Regions from separate parts of the Homo sapiens genome. Here all the other regions are linked to region 3. The links are contacts of gene promoters, found by promoter capture Hi-C in blood cells and fetal thymus (Javierre and others, 2016). All regions are on one chromosome and are shown on one strand. Each heading gives the region's core, a stretch centred on a gene start or on the middle of the fragment in contact. The rest is flanking DNA. Distances are from core to core; before and after follow the strand shown. Region 1 overlaps MAPK1IP1L (mitogen-activated protein kinase 1 interacting protein 1 like). Region 2 overlaps SOCS4 (suppressor of cytokine signaling 4). Region 3 holds the start of ATG14 (autophagy related 14).

Evidence for each region. The method cuts DNA at HindIII sites, captures the fragments that hold promoters and counts their contacts. A CHiCAGO score of 5 or more calls a contact.
Region 1: a contact is called between a fragment that was not itself captured here and the fragment with the promoter of ATG14 in region 3, in 1 of 17 cell types (naive CD8 T cells). The highest score is 5.0, in naive CD8 T cells.
Region 2: a fragment that was not itself captured here is called in contact with the fragment with the promoter of ATG14 in region 3 in 1 of 17 cell types (erythroblasts); the score reaches 5.3 in erythroblasts.

The regions. Positions count from the first base shown.
Region 1 is chr14:55,061,303-55,064,681 of GRCh38, forward strand. MAPK1IP1L (mitogen-activated protein kinase 1 interacting protein 1 like) reads left to right here. Exons shown (of 4, transcript NM_144578.4): 2 at 378-399; 3 at 1,316-2,023; 4 at 3,314-3,379. The coding sequence starts at 382. The coding sequence ends at 3,325. Among named protein-coding and RNA genes, the nearest start is that of MAPK1IP1L, 11 kb to the left of the region's middle. The HindIII fragment of the contact is 6,604 bases long and covers 1-3,379 here.
Region 2 is chr14:55,030,096-55,033,466 of GRCh38, forward strand. It overlaps SOCS4 (suppressor of cytokine signaling 4), which reads left to right. Exons shown (of 3, transcript NM_199421.2): 2 at 1,768-1,896. Among named protein-coding and RNA genes, the nearest start is that of SOCS4, 4.5 kb to the left of the region's middle. The HindIII fragment of the contact is 947 bases long and covers 1,214-2,160 here.
Region 3 is chr14:55,410,347-55,413,259 of GRCh38, forward strand. It overlaps ATG14 (autophagy related 14), which reads right to left and starts at 1,484. Exons shown (of 10, transcript NM_014924.5): 1 at 1,256-1,484. The coding sequence starts at 1,476. It also overlaps a transcript of FBXO34 not described here. RefSeq lists a silencer at 1,474-1,773. The HindIII fragment of the contact is 5,042 bases long and covers 900-2,913 here.

The sequences.
Region 1 (3,379 bases), core at 477-2,976, 350 kb before region 3:
GATAAATTTATCTGTTGACTCTAAATTCCATGTCCAGTGCTTTTTCCTGGTGTTAGATTCTCACACACAAACAAAGAAGTGTTGAGAGATGTTCACTGTATCATACTTAAAACAACTTATACTGCTACAAAAAGAAGGTAAATTAAATTGCAAATCATTTTTGTATGATGTGCAGCCATTAAAAGGGATGAAGTTAATAGAGCTGTATGAACTATTATGGAAAACTTTCCTATGTAAAGAAAAACACATTACATAAATAAGATTCCGCTTAAGTAATAATAATGTATGCATAGAAAGTTCCTTAAGGAATATTTAAGAAATGGTGAACACTGATTTTGAAATTTTTCTTTCTTCCTTCATTTCTTTTCTTTTTTTAGGAAAATGTCTGATGAATTTTCGGTAAGTTGATCAGTTTATCTGTGATAAGTTTTTCATCTCTTAAGAAAAACAACATGGTCCTAACTGGGCTACGTAAATCTTTTCACTTAAAAGAGATGCTTTAACCAGGCATGGTGGTGTGCACCTGTAGTCCTAGCTACTTGGGAGGATCCCTTGACCCCAAGAGTTTCAGGCTGCAGTGAGCCATGATTGTGCCATTGCACTCCTGCCTGGGTGACAGAGTGAGACTCTGTCTATAAATAAATAAAAGAGATGCTTTTTGTGATTCTTGGCTTTGGGGGTAGTAAAGAGATTTTGATAGGTGATTTGCCTTAGTTTACTGAGATAATAGCATGTTTGGAAATGTTTCCTGTATTTATGAAAATATGTATTTCTTTAAATGAAAATTTAAGATGTTACTTCTGTTGTTCTCTTTTACCCTGATAGTATTAATAGCCAACATTTATTAGAAATTATTATATACCAGGCACTCTGTGAAAGTGTACTACATGAAATATCATATTTAAGCCTCAAGTTAACCCTAAAACAGTTTTGAAACTGAAGAGGCTCTATCTCAGAGTATGTAGCTCCTTTGAGGTTAAGCCAGGATTCAAATCCATATCTTGACTGTTAGTTCTATCTTCTTAATTACTGTATTTTGTTGTATTAATACAGCAGAGAAATGAAGCACAATATGATTAGTTGTATTTAGAAAACGAGTTTCTCTGAAGAATTTGCACTGTAAAGTTGATACGCAAAGTAGCATCTCAAGGTTTATGTTAAATAGAGTATTTTTTAAATGACTAGCTTAGCTTTTGAAGATATTCTTGAGGTTTATAATCCCTGCCCCTATAGGTTACTATTCTCTGTGGGTTTATAATGGTGTTCGATGTAACTTTTCCCTAGATAGGAAAGACGTATCTGTTTTGTGTTCCAGTTGGCAGATGCACTACCTGAACACTCCCCTGCCAAAACCTCTGCTGTGAGCAATACAAAACCTGGCCAACCTCCTCAAGGCTGGCCAGGCTCCAACCCTTGGAATAATCCGAGTGCTCCATCTTCAGTGCCATCTGGACTCCCACCAAGTGCAACACCCTCCACTGTGCCTTTTGGACCAGCACCAACAGGAATGTATCCCTCCGTGCCTCCCACCGGACCACCTCCAGGACCCCCAGCACCCTTTCCTCCTTCCGGACCATCATGTCCCCCACCTGGTGGTCCTTATCCAGCCCCAACTGTGCCGGGCCCTGGCCCCACAGGGCCATATCCTACACCAAATATGCCCTTTCCAGAGCTACCCAGACCATATGGTGCACCCACAGATCCAGCTGCAGCTGGTCCTTTAGGTCCATGGGGATCCATGTCTTCTGGACCTTGGGCGCCAGGAATGGGAGGGCAGTATCCTACCCCTAATATGCCATATCCATCTCCAGGCCCATATCCCGCTCCTCCTCCTCCCCAAGCCCCTGGGGCAGCACCACCTGTTCCATGGGGCACCGTTCCACCAGGAGCCTGGGGACCACCAGCACCATATCCTGCCCCTACAGGATCGTATCCCACACCAGGACTCTATCCTACTCCCAGTAATCCTTTCCAAGTGCCTTCAGGACCTTCTGGTGCTCCACCAATGCCTGGTGGCCCCCATGTGAGTGTTCAATTTGTTATTTAAAGTGTACTAATTGTACATAGCACAACTGACATTGTTTCTCCCCAGTTTTGGATGGAAGATTAAGAAGGCTTTTAAGTTTTTAAAAGAGGGTGTGTGTATATTAAATAAGTAAATTTCAAACCTTCAGGTAAAGCATTTAAAAGGATGAAAGCACTGTTTTAAGTATTCCTTGTGCTAAAAAGAAGAATTTTCCAAAGATCCCCAAAGACTTTGTAATGTAGTAAGCAGTGTCCTCAATAGCATCCTTTAGGTAAACTCTGAGATTCATTTCATTGGGCTTTTTGTTTTATTATTATTATTTCTCAGTATTGTTTTATAGCATCACACCAAAGTACAGTTCAGTAAAAGCAGTCTCTACCTGTCTAGCTTGATAGAGGTAGATTTTTAGAGAATCCAAGGCAATGAGTAGGTAATGTTCATCTTTCAAGCAGTTCTCGAGCTCAAGATTACACCCCTATTCTTTATTGTCAGTTACATGTAATGCTTTATGCTTTACTGTCAGACAACCCAGTGTGGGGTTAACATCTTAGTTGAGGAGCCTGCCTTGGTCATATAACCAAATGGAAAAGTACCCCACTTCCCCTGTGAGGTAAGCCAAACGAGTATCCAAACGCAGAGTAAAGATTTTCCTTAGGAAAAAAAATCTGTTAACTCTTTTTTTTTTTTTTTTTTTTTTTTTTTTTTGAGACAGTCTTGCTCTGTCACCCAGGCAAGAGTGCAGTCTCTCGGCTCGCTGCAATCTCTACCTCTCAGGTTCAAGCGATTCTCCTGAGTAGCTGGGATTACAGGCGTGTGCCACCACACCGGCTCATTTTTGTATTTTTAGTAGAGATGGAGTTTCACCATGTTGGCCAGGCTGGTCTTGAACTCCTGACCTCAAGTGATCCGCCTGCTTCAGCCTCCCAAAGTGCTGGGATTACAGGCCTGAGCCACCATGCCCAGCCAGGAAAAAAAAAAAATCTGTTAACTCTTAGTACGAAAATAACTAGCCAGATCTCTGATTAGATTAGTCAAACATCCAATCCAGCTATAAAGGAAAAGAAATCTTTAAAGTACCCCTAAAACTTCCTCCTTGCATTAGTGTAATTTCTTTCTTGCTATATATATTATCTAAAAATATTTGTTTTGCAAAGTGTATGCCAGAGTAAATGATGTGACTTGCTGTTTGGATTTATTAAGCAATAAATTTACTTTAAGCCACAGTAAGGAGTTAATAAACTCCATTTGCAAAATCTAGAAGTTGACTTTTTCTTTTTTCTATTGCAGTCTTACCATTAAGTTAACAATGGACGAAGAGATGACGCTTTGCTTTTTGAAGTACATGTATATGCA
Region 2 (3,371 bases), core at 437-2,936, 380 kb before region 3:
ACCTAGTCCAAGGTAGTCTACCGCACTGATTCTCCAAATCATAGCTGTTGCCACAAAACTTAGAATTTAGTAAAACATAAAGTGTAGAGTCACCTTTTACTAATTTGTACGTAAAACTTGTTACCCAACCTTAAATGTAAGCATATGTAATTGTTATAAAGCAGTGAAGAAAATATAATACAATCTTATAAAATCTTTGCCTGTTTCTACTTAAATCTATTTACTAAGCTTCTAAAAAACTACAATTTTTTGTTTTAAAGAATTTAAAACTTTTTAAAAATAATATATTTAACATCAGGAATAATATAAAGTGCTTTGTGATATTTCAGAAATGGAAGAGCCTCCTTGACTTCAGATTTCTGAGGCACGTTTTTGTGCAGATTTTCTAGCCTTACATATAGCCTTTGTTTCCCCTCCCCTTTTTCTTAAAAAAATAGTGTTCTTTAAAAAAAGTGTTCCCACCTCTCATTTTTAGAAATGTACTTCTTCTAACATGAAAAGTTCTGAGTAATACTAGGAAGCAGTTAATATTTCTTTTCATTAAGTTCAGTGTATGTTGTTTTCATACCTTTTACTCCTGGCAGTAAAAACATGAGGTAGCTGGCATTATCCAGATTTTACAGTGGGAGAACTTAAGCTAAATTAGATTTTTTTAAACCAGGTAACATACCTAGTGAGTGGAAAAGTCTGAATTGTAGCCCACATTTGACAGTTCAGCAGCTCATGCTATTTCATCTTCACCATGTTTATTTTCAAATATGGTATAGTGAAAAACAGTGTAGGTTGTTAATTTTTTACAGATCTTTAAAACTTTAAAATTTTCTCTTTATGCTTAATTGGTCTCACAAGAAAAAAGAATTCAAGGAAATAAGCCAAAATGTCAAAATTGCTTGCTTTTAAATAATGGAATTATAGCTTTTTTCCCCCTCCTTTTTAAACTTTTCTGAATGGTCCATGTATTATACAATGAGCATATATTGTTTTTATCATAACAAATTACAGATTGGAAGAAAAAATAAATCTGTTCAATCTAATTTATTCCATAAAATGGTTCAGTATTATATCTTAAATATTCTGTTTCTTAAATTCTGTTAATCTTCCTTCTGCTTTTAGAAGTTCAGGTACTGCCAGCTCGTAGTTTCTGCTTTCTTCACTCTAGATTAGCCCCTTCAGTGATGGGTTCCTAGACCTCTCTCCTTATCTTTAGCTAATAAGCTTAGGGAATGTACACTGATGTTAACAGATTAGCCCATTAATGTTTCCCCAAACTTTCTTCCACAAAAGGATTTATGGCAAAGTAAAGACAGGAAGCTATGGTTTATGCAGATTTCTTTACTGAAGGATCTCCTGGGAACGTTTGCTAAATATGCACTGTAATCTTTGAGAGAAGAAGCATTTCCCAAACTTATTTGACAAGAGAACCTTTTTTTCTCCAGAATATGTGTTAACATCTTTCAGAACTAGTGTCCACAAGAGTACAGAGTGGGGAAAAGTGACATAAGCAAACTATAATTAGGAAAGCATGGAAAAAGTGGGGAGAAAGGGAAAGGAGGGTGTAGTGCTACTAAATCAATGATTCTTTTTTAGAAAATTGCAATTAAGTCCCATGAGCCCTGGCTCAGTAGCATGAAAAAAGGAGATACTTTAAAATATTTACTGGAAAATGAACCTGTATTGCTTCTGTAATGAGAAAACATTTGTTTTTTAGGTCAGATATTTTCCCATACAAACAAACCTGTTTTCAGATTTTTTTCTTAACATTCCAAGGAGTTCATCTGTTGTCTGCTCTCCAGTGACTTCCGTTTGTGGAGCCTAAGTGTTTCTACAGAATCCAACTCAAATATCAAGGACTATGATCAGAATGCTTTCAAGGAGTTTTTGGGCACATGATGGCAGGTAAACTTTGGAATCATGAATTTCGTAGGGAAAGTCCCCAGGCTTAATTACTACCAGAATAATAATATATTTGTGAATTATTAATGTAGTATACTGAATTATTCTTTATAGGATCAAATGTATTCCAATTTAGTATTTACATTAGTTGTGGTGTTAGATGTATGTCAGCATCATAGACATAAGTAGTTCAATGAATAATTAACGTATGCAATAATGCTGTTATCCTACATCATAGAGGATACTAATTAATTTCCAGATAAATGAAGCTTATCCTTTTAATTATTGGATTTGAATTGTTTCCTGTAGAAATTTTGAATTAAAATCACCTTCTCAGCCTTAGTCAGTATTACTAAATGTTATTTAAATATTTTGTAATGAAAATTGACATAATGGGCACTCATTTTGTTATTGTTGTCATTGTAATTTGTGGTAGAACCTGGGACCAAATAGTGGCAGAATCTGGGTACTTGTTTTCTTGAGAAGGCTTTTATATAAACTTGCTTTTTAAACATTTGCTTTTTGCTCATTAAGAAATATGACTTAAAAAAAAAAAGATGTCATTCTGTACTCCCCAGGGCAATGTAACATAGCTGCCTTCGTAAAAAATTAATTATTGAATCAAGAGCCAAAGCAGCCTTTTCCCAAGTGATTCTTTCACCTTCTTTTTAAAAAGCTTTTTTGCAGCTACAGTCAAAGATCTTTGATTTGTCACCATCTTTCAAACCATCATCTTTGATTTCTGTGTCACATGAAATTGTTGGTAAAGCCACCTTATTATTATTCTACCTCATGTATACAAAGTTTTTTTTTTTCTTTTGAGACGGAGTCTCACCCAGGTTAGAGTGCAGAGGCACGATCTCAGCTCACTGCAAGGTCCGCCTCCTGGGTTCATGCCATTCTCCTGCCTCAGCCTCCCGAGTAGCTGGGACTAGAGGCGCCTGCCACCACACCCGGCTAATTTTTTGTATTTTTAGTAGAGATGGGGTTTCACCGTGTTAGTCAGGATGGTCTCGATCTCCTGACCTCGTGATCCACCCACCTAGGCCTCCCAAAGTGCTGGGATTACAGGTGTGAGCCACCGCGCCCGGCCCTATACAAAGTTTTTATAAAATTTTAAGAATTAATGATAGGCTATCTGGAACAACTTGTTCGGATTCAGAACCCTACACTTTTTTTTTACATTCAGATTTTACATGTATGGACAAGATACGAAAGCACAATTTCAAAAAACTAATCTTTAGTCTTCATAACAATAAAAATAATTTTTCTCTCACTAAAATTAAGTTATTTTTATTGAAAGCAACATGATTGATTTTTTTATATTTTAGAATTTTGGTTCAAAGAAGCTTCTGGAAGAGATTAGAAAATTCTCTTTATATGTGTTTAAGTATAAAGATATGAAAGTTTGATAGACTTCTCTCATTTTTTTGTAACAGAATCAAATAATGGTGAAAGAAATTCTAAATATCTTTTTT
Region 3 (2,913 bases), core at 234-2,733:
CAGACAAGAAGGTCCAGAACCAAATCCTCGATTCACTCCATCAGTTAGACATTTCCATCTCATACCCCGTATTCTTATAACTGGTTTAATTTTTAAAGCTATCACTTACTACATAAGCAGTTTCTAAAGTCATCAAGAGCACCAATAAGACACAGCAACAAAACTAAAAAAGAGTTTGTCATTCAAACCTCCTCAAAAGAGAAAGGAAAGAACTCCATCCACGATCACAGAAATACTAAGAACTCAAAACATTCCCAAATATAGAGGATATAAAGTCTAGTGGTTAAGTGCGGGTACATAGGTCCAAGCTGTCTGAATTTTAATTCTTGTACCAACACTTAACTATTTGTGTGACCTGGGGCAAAGCACTTACTGTGCAGCTTCCTAATAAGTTGGGGATAAGTCATTCGGTTGTTGCGAATGAATTAATACCTGAATTTTTGTGCTCAGAATGCTAGCTATCTTACTATCATTGACTATCATTGACACTAAATTGTTGAAACATAAGTTGAGAGTGGGAGATCCTGCAGCTAATCACACTAATTTTTCAATTTTCTTAACCAAGAACTTGTAGCTGTTTAGATTTCGAAATGAAACCAAAACATTTTCCTAAAGGCAATTCTCTTAACTAAAAGCATGCAGCTCCCAATCTGAATTTTAAAACAAGGCCAAAACACGTTCCCAAATTCCTAAGAATCTAAAATAATCTTTAGAGGCAGGGAGGGGAAAGGGGCGTTAACAGCAAGCCTCAATTCACACATTAGAGTAAGCATGTCTGATAACAAAGTCCATCTGTGACAGACTACCAGGCCCAAATCCCTCTAAAGCAGTTATTTGATTCTCTTCTACTCTCTCCTCTAGAGAATGAGTATAAATATGCTTTCGAAAATAGAAAGCCAAGCTTTTGAATGGGAGTACATACAGCAAAGAGCTGGGAATCTAACTTAATGGCAGCAACGGGAAAACTTCTCCAGAGAGTCACCACTTATTCCTTTTTTCCCCAGTGACCAAGAGCACCGTGGGGTCAAACTCCTCTTGGGTGGGTGATGGGGAAACGGCGACCTTCCCTCATCTGGCCCCTACGCTGTCCTCTGGTAGCAAAGCTCCGGTGCAGAGCAGCTAGCTACACTCCCTCTCTCTCGCTCCTCTCGCTGGTATCTGGTGCCCGGACGGGGAGCCCCAGGTTCCAGCCTTCGGCTGCCTGGCTGGAGGACACACAGCAGAAGAAACAATAGGGCCGTGGCGGCCGCCGTACCTCTCCCGGTCGCGGCCGTCGAAGTAGACGAAATCGCCGCTCTGAACGCATTTGGCGCAGGTCAGCCGCCGGCGGGTAGTGTTGCACAGCGGGCAGCGCTCCACAGCCACGTACAGCCCCTCCGCATCGTCCACGGAGTCCACCAGGTCCCGGGCGAGCGGCCGGGGCCCGCAGCCAGGAGCCTCCAGCGCCCGGGCTCCCTTCCCACTGGGAGACGCCATGATGGCCTGAGAGGAGAGCCAGTCACGTGGGATTTTGTTTTCAACCGGGTGCATTCTGGGCCAGGAGGAGGGGCCTGGGGAAGGGGGGCTGGGATGCCGGCGAGCCCCCGGACCCCTCCGCCGCCGCGTGTTCCTGTCCCGGGCACTGTTGTTTTTCCGGTCTGCTGAGGGGCAACAGGTCCCGAAGCAGGGGGAGAGTTATATTAGAGGGGCTAGTCGGCCAAACAAAATGTCATCTGCTGGCTCAGGCCAAGACTACGAGTTAAAGCCTCAAACTTGTGCAGAAAATTGTAATACCATACCCTAAGGATTCTGGGAAAACGGAATGGGAGCGGAATAAGGGAATTTAACTTGCTGTGGATGCTTTAAAATCTGGCTAAACTACAGCAAACAAAGTAGGGTGAAGGGGCTGGGTCTTGGAACTAGGTTGAATTTTGGCTCACTCACCTGCTTAATAGCTGTGTGACTTGGGGCAAGTTCCTTAATCTCTCTGCGCCTGTTCTCTCGTGTTAAATGGATAGAATTATAGTACCCATCTAATGCCGTGAGGATTAATATGGTTAATAGTATTATACTTTACCAATAGTGAAAACAACCAAAGTGAACGTGCAAAATCAGAATTGTATCCTTCTGAAAAGTTAATCACGTGGCTAACGTACCTTCCCTACCCTGGGCCATGCTCTAAGAGAATTTGAACTAGGTAGATGGTTAGGACTTCCCTTCAAGTTTCTTTTGGTGGATAGGGGATATATAAGGTGATGTGTTGGGAGGATCATATCAGAGTAATTAGTGTTTGAATATGCCTCTAAACTACAGAGAAAAGTGAGTTTATAGGTGAGATTAAATAGACCAGTGATTCTCAAGGATGATTTTACTAGGCTATCTACTGATAAACTGCCCTGAATTCTCTCTCTAGCCAGGATTCCTTTCTCAAGTTCCATACCCAAAGATCCAGAACTACTTACTAGGTATCAGGTGACATTCCAGGACACCACAAACTCAAAGTGTTGGAAACTGACTTCTGCCTCCCTACAAACCTGTTTTCTTACTTTGGTAAAGGACGTAATCACTGATGATTTACAGCCAAGAGCCATGATTCATATTAGCCCGTCCCTCCCTGTTAATCTCCACATCACCATCGAAAACTGGTGATTCTACAAGCTAATTAGGTCTTGAATCTGAGCCCTTTGCTCCTCCGTCTTCTTAATCTTACCCAGTCTTTTTAAATACAAATCACGTAGGATTACAAAAACAAGCAAAAGCAAAAATTCTCTATATTCAGAATACAGTTTACACTAAACTTGAATGGTTCCTGAAAGTTTAAGATTTATTTTTAAGTGAGAAGTCTTTCTCTCTGATCATTTCAAACAAAAGGATTATTTTTTAAGGTCTCGGGCTTATGTTTCATTTGTATTCAGACAGGATCCTTCACAGTGC